2 separate regions of the Homo sapiens genome follow, and region 2 is linked to region 1. The links are contacts of gene promoters, found by promoter capture Hi-C in blood cells and fetal thymus (Javierre and others, 2016). All regions are on one chromosome and are shown on one strand. Each heading gives the region's core, a stretch centred on a gene start or on the middle of the fragment in contact. The rest is flanking DNA. Distances are from core to core; before and after follow the strand shown. Region 1 holds the start of CETN3 (centrin 3). Region 2 holds the start of ADAMTS6 (ADAM metallopeptidase with thrombospondin type 1 motif 6).

Region 1 (6,906 bases), core at 3,111-5,610:
AATATAAATACAAACAACTTGGAAAAGCATCTTTCTATAAAAAGCTACACAATAGTTCCTTGGTTAGAATCTTCACAACAAAACAAAAGACAAAACTATAAATCTCAGAGCAAAGCCATATTTTTTCTTTGAAAAAAAAACCAACAAAACAAAACTGAGTAAGAGTCACATTATACACCAGTGTTCTATAAGAAAATTCCATAACCTAGAGAATTTAAAATTTAAAAAGTGATATTAATCAGACAATTTCCTAACAGCTGCTGATTACAAAGACTATTAAAATACACACCAACTTCATTAAAATCTTCAAAGGTGATTTTCCCTGTGGCTTCTCTGTCATAATCTTTAAGAATCTTCAGTACATCAGCTTTTTTTACATCAAACCCCAAGGCTCTCATTGCCACCTTTTGGATTAAAAAGGAAAAGCAAATTATAAAGCACTCTTTACAAAAGAATTTCTAATTATTAAGTTTTTACATCTTAAGAGATGACAACACATTAATAAAATATAACTTTTTTGCATGTTTTACCTCTTTAAAATAGCAGTGATAGTGTAATTGTTCTTCACTACTGAAATTAAGTATGCATAAGTTTTTTCATTTATAAATTGCATTTTTTATATGACAAAGTAACCAACAAGTGTTTACAGATTTTACTATATAAAATGCACTAACTTATTGCACAGATAATTTGATTGTTATTTGTTCTGAAGGGATTAACAATCAAAATGAGAAAAAGGCGTGGCATAAATATTAAACAGTTACATGATAGAAGAGATAAAACATTAAAACAAGAATTATCATCAGTCTTTCCATGATTAGTTACCAGGTAAATGATAGGGCTAAGGACCCTGAGTTTAGAGAAAAAAGAGATTTTGTTACTAATAATAAGGAAGGAGACATATTACTGACTAGAGAAGTCTTATTTGGAAAGATTCAAACTGTTCCTTGAAGGATAGATGAAGAGGAGCAGTAGGGTATTTGGGAAGGATGACTGGTATTAAAAGAAACACTGAAACGAATAGGTTCGAAGGACAATGAACAGAGCAGTTTACCTCACCTGAATTAGAAAAGTTCAGGTGAGGTAAACTGCTCACCTGAATTAGGAGGTGAATTCCACCTTAATTAGAAGAGTTCAGGAGGAAGAAAGCAGTTAGCAAATGAAAAAAGTAGTTGGTGGCAAAAGTGTAGAGAACATTCAGTAGAAAGCAAAGGAATCTGAACTTTAAGTAGTATACAATGAGGAGTTATGGTTTATGAGCAATGAACAATTTATGAGCAATGGTGAAAGAATTTTTAAACTATCTAAATTCAGTGGTAGTGTACAAGGTGAACTAGTAAGAAATCATTTAGGAAGCTCCAGGTATGAAATAAGGTCCCAAACCAAGATAGTCAATGGTTACAAATGGAACAGACATTATAAAGGAAGATCAAATCTGGGTAACCAAAAAAAAAAAAAAACAAAAAAAACAGTGGGAAAAGAGAGCCAAAGAGGACTGCAAGATTGAGAAAGCTAGACTTAGCAGGCCTATTAACTGCTTTTATACATTCTATCCTGTCACTGCATAGTTCCTATCCCTACTTGGAATTCTAATGCTTAAAAATCCCTTACGAAATTACAAAAATTAAAACTACCAAATAAACACTTACATTCACCTATCCATTAAGGCCATTAAAAATCTCAAAATACTATCTTTCCCACTGTGCTGAAAGTAAGTCCCATTCTACCCTAAACCCAAATCTCTCCTTATACCCTGACAAATAATAATTTACAAATCTCTCCCTACACTTTGACATTCTAGGTCTTAAAGCTGACATTTTTACCTATTAGCATGTGTCAACATCAAACAGCACTAAAGTTGTTTGCACCAGAGAAAGTGGATTGAGACTATGTTACTAACAAATCCAAATTATAAGATTAAAAGACAACACTCCCACAGTCTGAAAACAGTATGAGTCACCAAGAAACAAAAACAAAAACAAAAAACAGTGAAAAGAAGATGGTAAGAATAAATTCCAGTTTGAAATCCTTTAATTATGACAGTGAAAAATAAGCACCTTCCCTGGGAATGTATTTTTACATTTAAAATACTATTCGTTTTCTCATGTGAAAAAGATTTTCTAAAAACTATGTTAGGAGTTCTCTTCAGTTTTATTACAGCATCTAACTATGAATGCTTAAAATGCCTTCATAGTTCCAAAACCAATTTAGTTAAAATAATTATTTAGAAATGTAATGTAAAGCAACTGTAAAAATGCAAATCATTTTAACACAGAAACAAATATTTTAAAGTATACCATTACCTTTAATTCATGATAATCTATTGCTTCATCTTTGTCTGTATCAAATAGTTCAAAAGCATCTTTAATTTCTTGTTTCTGTTCCTCAGACAGTTCTCTTCTTTTTTTCCTCTTTGTTTTGTCCACTACAAGCTCACTTCTATGAAATGGAAAGAAAAAGCCCTTAGTCCACTTTAATTCTCTTTACTAACAGAAATTAGCCAATAATTACCTTCTAAATTTCAAAAAAGAAAGTACTTTGGAGAAAGATAGGGAAACTTTCCCTTTATGAGTCAATGACCTGTTTATTCCATAGTCTAAATTGCTATAAATCTGAACTTCGCAAAACTAAAGAGTGTTACAGATTATTAAAAGAAATGAGGACCAAACTTTTCTTTTTCCCAGCTTTTTATTTATTCCCACTAATGTTACTGTGGAAGAAACAAGAACTGTGAATAAGCAACACTACTTTTATGTCTGAAACTCCAACCAACTCCAACCAAAAAAACAAAAACACGTTATCCTACAAGAATGTTAAAGAATTTAAAAAAAATCTCCAAATGAAACCAAAATTCATAACTGACAATCACTATATATCGGTTTACTGTTGATAGTTCTGATAATTATGTTCATAAAATTACAAAAAAAAAGTGAATTAACTTATACAGTATTTTAGCACTGTTGGTTCAAAATGTTTTTAGATTACACGTTTTTAACAGTTTGGCAATTTATGTGTCATTTCCTCCATTGATATTAACAAACCATCGAAAATATTAATGAGTCTAAACATATGACAAATATTAGATGCCAATATACAATGTTTGTGCTTCATTCTATATAAAAATGTGATGAGTCTTGTCTCATTTAACATGTAAACCGGAGGTTAACTTCTCATAAACTCTGGAAACGCTTAAAGAAAAAAAGCAAAAATTATTTTAAAGCCAGAAATGTTTTCCTTAAGAGCTGCCCATCTAAATGTGCTCCAAATTTTCAAATGGAGCCGCAACACTGGAATAACGAGTTTTGAAACACAATCCGGTAACACATTAACATGTCAAACCAGTTGACTGTACTTAAAACACCTATCTAGTTGCATTTGAAAGTCGTTTTGGTCTCTGAAAGCTCCAAAAAAAAAAAAAAAAAGCTAGGAAGTGACTAGTAGGTGCAGTATAACAAAGCTGAGGAAGATCTTCCTTTCATGAGACCTGACTTGACACAAACTTGGGTATTCCTGGGGTCAGTCTTTTCCTTCCTGAGACTTTTGGAGGCCAAGTCCAGAACCGACCCACCCCTGACCCCATCCAAGGGTACCATGATTATCCCTTAGCAGAACATGGAATATTTTCGGAGTGTCGTAAGTGTATGGATAGTTTTACGGTACAACGTCTACATAGTGGGAGAGGGCAACAGAGGGTTAGAGGTTAGAACTGAAAGGTAAAAAAATGCAAGAAATTTAGGAAATCCAAGAGACAGACTGCCAATTAAAGTCACTAAAATGGGTCTCCAATTACACCGTAAAGCAGGGCCCTGGGAGAAGAGGAAAGAGTTTTTGTTATTTCCAAAATTTATAGGTGGGTGATTGCATTAGCAGCGGAGCAGCCGAGGTGGGGCCCTGACCAGGCACACGGATGAATGAAGGGATGTCCGCGACCTGATCTGAGAAACAAGAGTAGAAGCCTCGCGATATTTCATTCCCACCTCGCTCGCAACTAAGCCCAACCTTCTGGCAGTCCAAAGCCCTACGCGCTGACAGAAATAACCTCCTTAGCAGAAATGCACTGGTCTCGTTCCCTGCAGGGCATCAGAGCCCAGAGGGTGAGTGATCCGGGCAGGCTGCCCTAGGCTCCTTTCCCGCGTCCCAAACTACATCCCCTGCCTCGCCTCGGCCCCAAACGTCCTCCCTTCCACACACACCCTCCCTGGGCCCCGCTCCGGGGTGTGGAGAGCACTGCCGCCTCCTTATTACCGACCTCAGAGCTAAACTCATTATCTCTTCGCACAGAGACGTTCCTCTCAAGAACGATTTTAACCCCCTACCCAAGGCAGCAAGACGCCCACAGCCGTTCAACAGACACGAACGACCTCAGCGGCCTCAGGGACCTCCCACAACATAGACACTTTTGAGCTGGATTGGTTGAAATGTCGCTATGGTTCTGCCTATTAGGGGGCGGAAGCTTTACCAGTTCTATTTTCATTGGGTAGGTTTTACGTCAATCAAGGAAAAAAAAATTTTTTTTCTGTGCCCCGCCCACCTCCTAACGCCCCCCCGCCCCCCCAATCTAGGGCCGCTCTCGCCCTTCGGATTGGCTCGATGCGTTTTTCCCCGAATCCTTTGCGGGTCCGGCCTCCGATCCCTGTGTGGCTGTTTGGCGGGTGGGCGCTGTGTTCCTCTCTCGTAAAGCCGTGCGGTCTGTGGGCCGCCATTCAGAAACTGGATGGACAGCTTCGGCGGTGGGAAGGGAAGGGACATGCTGCAGGCCACCCTCCGGCTAGAAGGAGGGAGTACTTGAGGAACAAGGTCTGCGAAAATTGGCTGTGCTCTGTTCTAAAACTTGGAATGGCCTCAGTACCTGGGGAATGTGTTTAAAATGCAGACTTAAATGTCCGTTTCTCCATTCTAATTTCAGTAGGTATGAATCTGCGTTTTTACTCCTCACAAGCCTTCCAAGTGATTCTGAGGCAGGTGCTGTGGCTGTACTTGGATTATCACAGGGTTAGATTATCAGGCTATTTATGATTTAGCTGTATCTAAACCACCTTTCCCTCTCTTTCCTCCTTTGAACTGTTTGAAACGGATTTGTTCCCTTCTGTCTCTTATTTTTCAGTGCTGTAAGCTGTTAACACACATGAGACTGTCTTCACTACCAAACCAAGTCTCCTAAAGCTCACTTGAATGTCTGCTTATTCGTGTCTCTTACTAGGTTCAATTTCTTGGAGGCCGTGATTATATCTATTTAACGCTTTTCCTTGTACCTAATAAAATGTCTGGTGCGTAGGTGCTCGGTAAATTGAGTGGAATCTTTTGAAAATCCACAAAATACTGAGCTAAACAGCAAATCTCATAAACGTGAATAAAATAGCCTGAGGATGGGAGTTGAAGGCGGAGAATATATAAACATTATATGTTTAAGGGATGTATATAAAATTTTAGAGAAGGGAGAGAACACAAGATATGCTTCTTAAAGGAGGTGACATAAACGTTAGACCTAGAAGGATGGGCTAAATTTGCACAAGGAAAGATAGTATGATAGAATAAGCTAAAAATTAGCTAAGGGATAGCACCCCTAAAAAACAAAAGTGGAACTTTTATTTTGTTCGTATTTTAAATTTTAAAGTACCTTTATAAATCACCTTTGAGTCTAAAAGGAAAGAGAAATTGTAGTTACTAGAACATAATGATATTGAAAAAAACTATATGTTAAAATTTTAAGATACAGACCAAGTTATAGGAGAACATTATTTTAAATAAGAAAGAATAAAAATAGGCCAAGCATTTATTTGAAGATGTTAGAAACGAAGAACAAATTGTATAATTGAAATTAGGAAGAGGAAATTAGTAAAGATAAAGTTTGAGAACAGTGTTTTAAAAGGAAATTGGTAAAATTGATAAAGTACTCATAATCTAGTATAAAGCTGGTTTTTGGCAATACCAGTGAAATTCAAAGACTTATAGGAAGTGTAACAAGAAAAGGAATAGTGCCACTAGTAAGGTTGGTAATTTAATAAAAGGGAGGTTTAAAAATTATTAAAATATTTTATACAATTTTATACCGCCAATAAATATTAATAGAAAATGAAATAGTCACTTTTCAAGGAAAACATAACTCAAAAAAGGTGGAAAACTGAATTAAGTCAATAACTACAGACAGGACTGGAACAAAGATGCCAAAGTTCTGTACTCACAAATAAAAAGCCTCCAGCCCACTCAGATTTATGATTAAAAATCATAAGAGCTAAATCTTGTGCTTTAAACTCAAGTCATAGAAAATGATGGAGAGCTTCTTAGCTTAATTTTTGAAGCTGCCATAATCTTTCACATCCTAAAAGAACATTTAAAGTCACTCAGTGTAAGCTCAGTGATGATGAAGGCTATGCATGTTTCTCACCATTGTATCCCCAGTGCCTGACTCATGTTTGATGTTCATTTGTGAACTTAAGTGCAAAATTCCTAGATGTTAGCAAAGTCAGTTTGATACTGTCTTAAAGGAACATTTCTCTATAACTAAATTGAGTTTTTTTTTGTTAAGTGCAAAGATAATTCAAAATATAAATCTGTGTTAAATAATTATAATGTTAGGTTAAGGAAATCATCTCAGTGTCAAAAAGGCACTGAATAATAGGTAACACCTTTTCTATTAGGATATAAAGTGGGTTTAGAAAATACTTTTTTAAATATGATCGGCAGAATACTTAAACACCAGTGTTTCTCAAACCTCATTCCTGAAACACTAGGATTTTGTGAGATGCTTTTGGTCTCAGAGTGCGTTTTATAAGCAAATAATTTGGGCAAACAGATTTTAAAAGGTTTTCAATAGGGTGTCCTTTTAAGAGAGTGACAGGGAATTTACACGCATCACTTTTATTATATTTAATTAGTGAGAACTAGTGACAACCACTTCTTGCTTCA
Region 2 (6,906 bases), core at 2,429-4,928, about 25 Mb before region 1:
CACCTGGTGGGGAGGTTAATCTGGACACCATAAATATGTAGAGGCTGTGACTTTTCAGATATAGTTTCCAAAGTTCAGACTAACATTGAAATACCAAACAGTTGTCCAAAAATCACAATGCATTGACCTTTTAAATTGTATAGCAGAAACATCATTATGTTGTGGAAAGCACAAAGGCTTTGAGTCCTGGCCTGACCCCCAGTTACTTAACCTCTCTGCATCTGCTTTCTAATCTATAAAACCATGATATTGATGTCTATCTCACAAAGACTTGTTAAGAGATTAGATTACATATGACGTAAAGTGTCTCTGTACTTTAAGCTAAATAATATTAGCCCTCCTTCCTTCATTATCTAACATCACTTTTCAAAGCCCTTCCTTCAAAAATAGTTTCATGTTCCTCTTTCCCTCAAAAATGTGAAATAATAGATATGATGATGGAGTCAATCAACTAGTTATATTGTCTTTTACAGCAAGGAGTTAAGAACTTTGGTCATGATAATGATACTTATAACTACTTTAAATTTGAAAACAGAACCAAAACGTCCATTTCACTTTGATTTCACATATGCTTTTCTCCCTAACACAAATGCACCAGGCAGTAAAGTTAAGGGATCATTTACCTGCTTCCATGGATCAAAGCTACACTACCTAAGAAGAAAAATGATGAGACAACTTGCACTATAGTGATTTCCTCAGTAGTCTGCCCTGATTGGAGGGTATTACTTGTCTTTTTTCCTCTATCATCTTTACTTCCCACTCAAGTGATCGGGGAGTAGCCAAGGTAATAATTTCCTCTTGTGAACTATTATTATGAAGCTAAAGAATGTGTATAATGTTCTTCTCAACTTCTTTCATCCATCTTAACTCTGGTTATTTATTTAAGGCTGATTTGGTCTCCATGGAAGAAACAACAATACCATGCTCCTTTCAGGTGTTTAATTTTTACATATGAAAATTAACTTCTTTCATTTCCATTTATTCTCTCACATTTATTATCACCTACTGTATGCTAAGGACACAATTAGGCTCTAAGTATAAAGGTTTCTAGATCATTTATAAAATTTGTGAGATTGGTTTCCAAGGAAAGGTGAAACTAAACACATAAATTACCCAAAACATATCTATCAAGCAAATGAGCTAAAAGCAAAAATACAAACCATGATTTATAAAACTCAAGCCCTAAATTACATGTAGTCTCACACTTTTTTCCAGATAGCAAGTAAATACACATTTTCTGTATTATAAATTTTTTCTCTTGAGCTTAGCTTGATAATCAACCATGTTTTTTGGCAGAAGCAAGAGAGCTATCCACCTCTTCCCCTCTTTTTCTCCCCACTACCCCCAACACATATTCCAAATATGCTGTTAACTATCTCTTAATATGGTAACTCCCTTCATTCACTCACTAAAGTCACAAACTTGATAAAATTTGGCATAAAGACCCATCCTAGTTACTACTACTAGTGATTACTAAGGAAAGAAAGAGGAAGTGCTAAGAGTAGACAAGAGTAGGAATTAATCTTACAGGTATTGGGACCAGACATAAGGAGTATTACAGTATTTTCAGTCTTCAGGCTAGAAGTTTTTCTTCTTGGGAATCACAAAAATATTAAGACCACTACACAGACTTCATTTGCAGCTGTGGCAAATGAATGAATTTGATTTGTTTGAAATCAACGTATTTGCCTCTAAATGCTATTCTTCAAAAATTCAAAACACTAACGATCACATTTAAGCACAGAATTAACATAAACCAGACTGCAGTTACCACTTTGCTGCAACACAAGAAAACAATTATCTCCAAAATTAATTTTCTTAATTTCTTTCAACTACACCAATTTTGTGTTACGTTTCTTTTCCTGTCATGAATTCTGAAAACTGTCATCCCCACATCTAAACATTTCAGTCTAATCAACAGAAACTAAAAAGAAAGAAAAAAGAACAGAAAATTAGTCCACGACACTTGAACATAAAAAGAACATGTTGAAAATCACACTCAAGTGTCTCTTTTAAAGTTCCAAGCAATGGTTCAGTTTCCCTTTTTCTCTCTGCTCTGCACACCCTCACCTCCCCCCGCCCCCACCATTCCACTTCGCCCAGACAGAGGGTAACAGTCTGAGCTGCCCTGGTTGAGTTGATCCTAAAGTTAACATTCAGCAGCCCATTTCCAGACAGCAGCGCTAAATCTATTTGGATAAAACGCGTGTGACCCAGACAGTTGGCATCTGGCCCAAACGCGTTGCACCGGCAGCTCAAATAAAAACAAGAGTAAGAAACTCACTCTCTTGTTCCCTCTCAGTGCGCTTTCTCAATCTCTCGCTCACTTTTCCTCTAGTACAGGGAAAGAAAGCATCAAAGACAGGAATTGTAGCACATATTATCAGAAAGAGGCTTCCCAATACCCCATTCCTGCACTCTCACTCTCCCTCCTCAATCCCTGAACTTTGGTCCCATACACCATATATACAGACCTACCCCGATAAACAAGGCTCCGGAGGGTTATGAGTCTAGCACGTCCCAAGTGGCCAAAAGTAAATCAAAAACACACGTTTCCATCTCTTTGATTAGCCTATTAAGAGCTTAACATGTCCTAGAGCATCGGGGCTACAGCTAGCACATTAATGCTACCCTCTGAGCCCAGGCATAAAATATGCACTTGTCTGAAGACTTAACGACACTGACATGAAACTACAAAATGCATAAGACTTTTCTGTAAGAAAACTGGAAATCAATTTAAAACACACACATCATTATTACCTTCCGGATTACTATTTGGTGATCAGTTAAAAGATTACAATAATCATAATCAAGTCCACTTCACAAAACATGTATTGTATATTCATAAAATAAACGTATTTTTTTTGCATCATAAAATAACTGCAAGTCCCAGAATTCTACAACCCCCGACAAGTCTGGAGTTAAAAAGATATCTATTTGTAAAATGAGTTCAGTCAAGCTCACTCATTGCCATTAAAAAAAAAAAAAAAAACACACACACAGAAAAAAAGTTTTCTAAGCGTTATTCGGAAGACAAGCAAAGCACAAGTTGTTGGTTTAAAAAAAAAAAGCTCCATTGAATATTGTTAAGTCTTCCTTACCGTTTTCATCTTCAAATTCTGATAAAAAGTAAGTTTCAGACAATAGAGATTGCACTGGACGACTCACGTACTCCCTCTCCTCTCTAACTTTTTTTAATTTTTTTTATTTTTTTATTTTTTGCCCCCCTTTGCAAAGCCACACCAGCCAGTTATTCTGCAGCCAGAATAAAACCCTATGGTCTGGCTAACCCGGGCTTTAGAGAACTGACTTTCCGATTTGGCAGAATAAGAGATGCCTTCAATACATCTAGGCTATCACTCTGAGATGCTGCCTTTGCAAACCCCCTTTCTCTCCCTCCCCACCCCCCAAAAAAGGAAAGGAAAAGAAAGAAAAGACGGGAAAAAAGACTTATTGGGGGTGGAAGTGGTGCCCTCTCTTCCTGGAAAGCTTAGTGCCTTTGCTATGCAAATAACATGTGCAGAGCATCAAAAGGTATCAGGAGAAAAGAAGACAAGAGGAGCAGGAAGGGCAGCAAAGTTTTGTTGAAGTAGCCCTAGATCTCACTACCGGCCCCCAGCCAACTTGAATTGCAGCAGGAGAAAATTTTGGCAGCTTTTCCTCGGAGGCAGAGCACACTGACGTCAGTCTGCAGATGTGCCTGGGCTGCGTCGGGTGCGCATGTGTCCTGGGTCGTCACGTGGAGGGGGAGGGGAGGTAGAGGTACAATCGGGGTAACCAACTACCAGCCATTCAGAAGGGCTTAGACAATGTCAACTTTTCCACACTGTGAATGAGAGAAATTCTGGCCTCTCTAACCTCTCTGTCCTATCTCATTCCGCCTCTTTTCCTCCTCCTCCTCTAAACTCTCTTAGAAATTCTAGCCTGGTTTGCTATTAGTTGTTTCTTGGAAAAATGAAGGGGGAGGGAGAAGGATGAATGACTTTAGATGGACTAATGTCACTGTTAAGATCTCTGGTGTCATTCTCCGTGTAATTTTATTTTTAAAATCCACACAATCAAAATGTTAAAACTTGCACGCAAACAGTGCCTCTGAGGAAACTTAAAGCTTAGATTCGTGCAGCAGGCACAAGACTCAGTAGCTACAAGTGTACAAAATGCCTGTGTTTTATACATACTTCAGCAAGTAAGGTTAGCACCAAAAGGGAAAGTAAACTAAAGTAAACTAATACCAGCACATTTTCCATTTGATTATCGACTTCAGGTTATGTGGAGCTTTAAAAGAAGAAGAAGAAGAAAAAAAAAAAGTAGGGGAGGAGGGAGCGGGGGAAGGAAGAGAGAAGCTTGCATTATTTCCAGATGAGGGTGAGACTGGATGGTGTTTTAAAGTGCAACCGGGAAAAGCCACAAGTGGAGTGTATTTTTTTAAGTCAGTCCATTGAATGAAACTTCAATGACTGCCCAAATGAAAATAAATCCGAAGTAGGACCCCACCACCAAAAAAAAAAAGGAAGGGAAAAAAACAGGAACCCTGCTGCGATCTCAAGATAAACAAACAAAACCTCAAAACTGGTTCTTCAACCTTCCCAATCCCACCCTCCCTCCCCCCTACACACAAGCTGCCAGTCCAGACTTTAAGGATAAAATACCGCTACAATGTAGCACTTTCACTTTCATTTGCTGAGAATGAAAGCCGCTGGGGAGAAAATGCCCAGTGTTTTCCATGTCCTAAGCAAGCAAACAAAGTCTGGCACATACATCGGAAACAGGAAAAAATGTGAAAATAGCTCAGGACAAATGTTGCCTTTCAACGGTGTAATCTGCTGCATCATTTATCTGTCTCTACCATTGAGTGTAGAATAGGGAGCTGTTTAAGAGTTTCCGAGGTTGGGGGCAGGGGAAAATTGACGCCTTGAAATTCCAGCCCTTAGTTAATGCCAAGTCAATTTCCGATGGTGAGAACCAGAAAGGAGAACTGGACCGGAGGGAAGGGGGTAGGAAGGATGATCTTTCTGAATACCAGCTCTTAAATATCAAGCTTCTGCTAACATTATTGCCCATTTGATTTTTTTTTTTCTTCCTACGCCGGAGGTAGTAGGTGTAATTCTTCTGGTGAATCTATGAATAGTTGGCTAAAAGGAGGCATGAATCAGACTGAGAACGTCCAAGAATACAGTTATTTCAATTCTTCTTCAAGGGTTGAAAGTGGAAAGCATCTGTCCACAGAGTAAATAGTCCTCATCCTGACCTTAATCAGTAGTATCTGGCTAAAAGCCATTTAAAATGTAGAAATCTGTTCAATAGTGGGCATTGAGTTTTAAATAAAGATGATTCATATGTATGTATGTATGTGTGCGTATTTGTATGTGTATATATATGTGTGTACATATATGTGAAATACATGAGGTAGCAAAATATAGCAATAATTGTAAACACCAAAAATAAGAAAAGTAGGCATCAAATGACTATTTAAATAGTGTTGAACCTTAACCTTCCTTAATTTTTCAAGTACTGGCAGTAAATAGGGACAGCCAGCACACACACAAAAAATAAAGGTATGAGCAGTAAACATCTATATAAGCTCTGAAAAGATTTTACCCTCAACTAAGATAAACTGCCCTACAAAGTAGCAGCTTGTAGAGGAGCTTACTTAGTGGGAGTGGACTTTGGCTAATTACTTATTCAAAGAGTGCCATCCTGTGTCTAAACAGAGTAATGAAATTTTTCCAACAGATTCTGTCTCCAAGTTGATTGGGTCAAGAATACTGTGAATAATTGGTGAAAATTGATTAGGGTGGGAAATGGCGAACTGTCAATTTAACTTTATATATGTGTATATATATGTGTTTGTGTAAATGTTTTAACTGCATTGCAGAAAATTTCAAACATATACAAAAGTAAAAAAAAAAACAGTATAATGAACACTCATGTAGCCATCATCCAGTTTCAAGTGTCCAAGTGTGACCAACTTTGTTTCATCTATCATTTCATCAGATATCGTTTCATTATTTCCCTGTATTTCTAAAAGTACTAAAAAAATATACACCACTATTATTCTTAAAACATTAATAACTCATGTCATCAAATATTGTACTCAGATTTCCCAATTGCAAAAAGGGCTTTAAAAAATGCCTTTTTATTAGAATCAAGATCCATACATTGCAATGGCTCCATCTTTTCTTAATAAACTTTTAATTGAAAATATTCATGCAGAAAAATGTATAATTACATAGTTTGATGACAAGTGTCCAGTCTAATGAATTTTCACAAGTCAACTGGCCCATGTAACCGCCATTCTCTTGTCTCTTTTTAAAATTTTTATTATCTATTTACTTATTTAAATTGACTAATAAAAAATACATATATTTTAGCTGGAACTACAGGCATGAACCACCATCCCCAGCTAAGTTTTTATTTTTGTAGAGATAGGGTCTCCCTGTTGCCCAGGCTGGTCACGAACTCAGCCTCAAGTGATCCTCCTGTGTCCGGAATTTGGTGGGTTCTTGGTCTCACTGACTTCCAGAATGAAGCTGCGGACTCTCAGGTGAGTGTTACAGTTCTTAAAGGCAGCGTGTCCGGAGTTTGTTCCTTCTGATGTTCAGATGTGTTCGGCCTTCTGGTGGGTTCGTGGTCTCGCTGGCTCAGGAGTGAAGCTGCAGACCTTCGCTGTGAGTGTTACAGCTCATAAATGCAGTGTGGACCCAAACAGTGAGCAGCAGCAAGATTTACTGCAAAGAGCGAAAGAACAAAGCTTCCACGGTGTGGAACGGGACCCGAGCAGGTTGCCACTGCTGGCCCAGGCAGCCTGCTTTTATTCTCTTATCTGGCCCCACCCACATCCTGCTGATTGGTAGAGCCCAGTGGTCTGTTTTGACAGGGTGCTGATTGGTGCGTTTACAATCCCTG

The links. The method cuts DNA at HindIII sites, captures the fragments that hold promoters and counts their contacts. A CHiCAGO score of 5 or more calls a contact.
Region 2: a contact is called between the fragment with the promoter of ADAMTS6 here and the fragment with the promoter of CETN3 in region 1, in 1 of 17 cell types (total CD8 T cells). The highest score is 5.3, in total CD8 T cells.

The regions. Positions count from the first base shown.
Region 1 is chr5:90,405,396-90,412,301 of GRCh38, forward strand. CETN3 (centrin 3) reads right to left here and starts at 4,361. Exons shown (of 5, transcript NM_004365.4): 1 at 4,250-4,361; 2 at 2,304-2,439; 3 at 290-404. The coding sequence starts at 4,266. It overlaps LOC731157 (a long non-coding RNA gene), which reads left to right and starts at 4,605. Exons shown (of 2, transcript NR_105024.1): 1 at 4,605-4,909; 2 at 5,105-5,274. RefSeq lists an enhancer at 4,131-4,330. The HindIII fragment of the contact is 6,726 bases long and covers 1-4,451 here.
Region 2 is chr5:65,478,242-65,485,147 of GRCh38, forward strand. ADAMTS6 (ADAM metallopeptidase with thrombospondin type 1 motif 6) reads right to left here and starts at 3,679. Exons shown (of 25, transcript NM_197941.4): 1 at 3,102-3,679. It overlaps LOC124900986, which reads right to left. Exons shown (of 2, transcript XM_047417970.1): 2 at 6,100-6,906. RefSeq lists enhancers at 3,432-3,791, 3,559-4,058, 3,832-3,881. The HindIII fragment of the contact is 619 bases long and covers 3,488-4,106 here.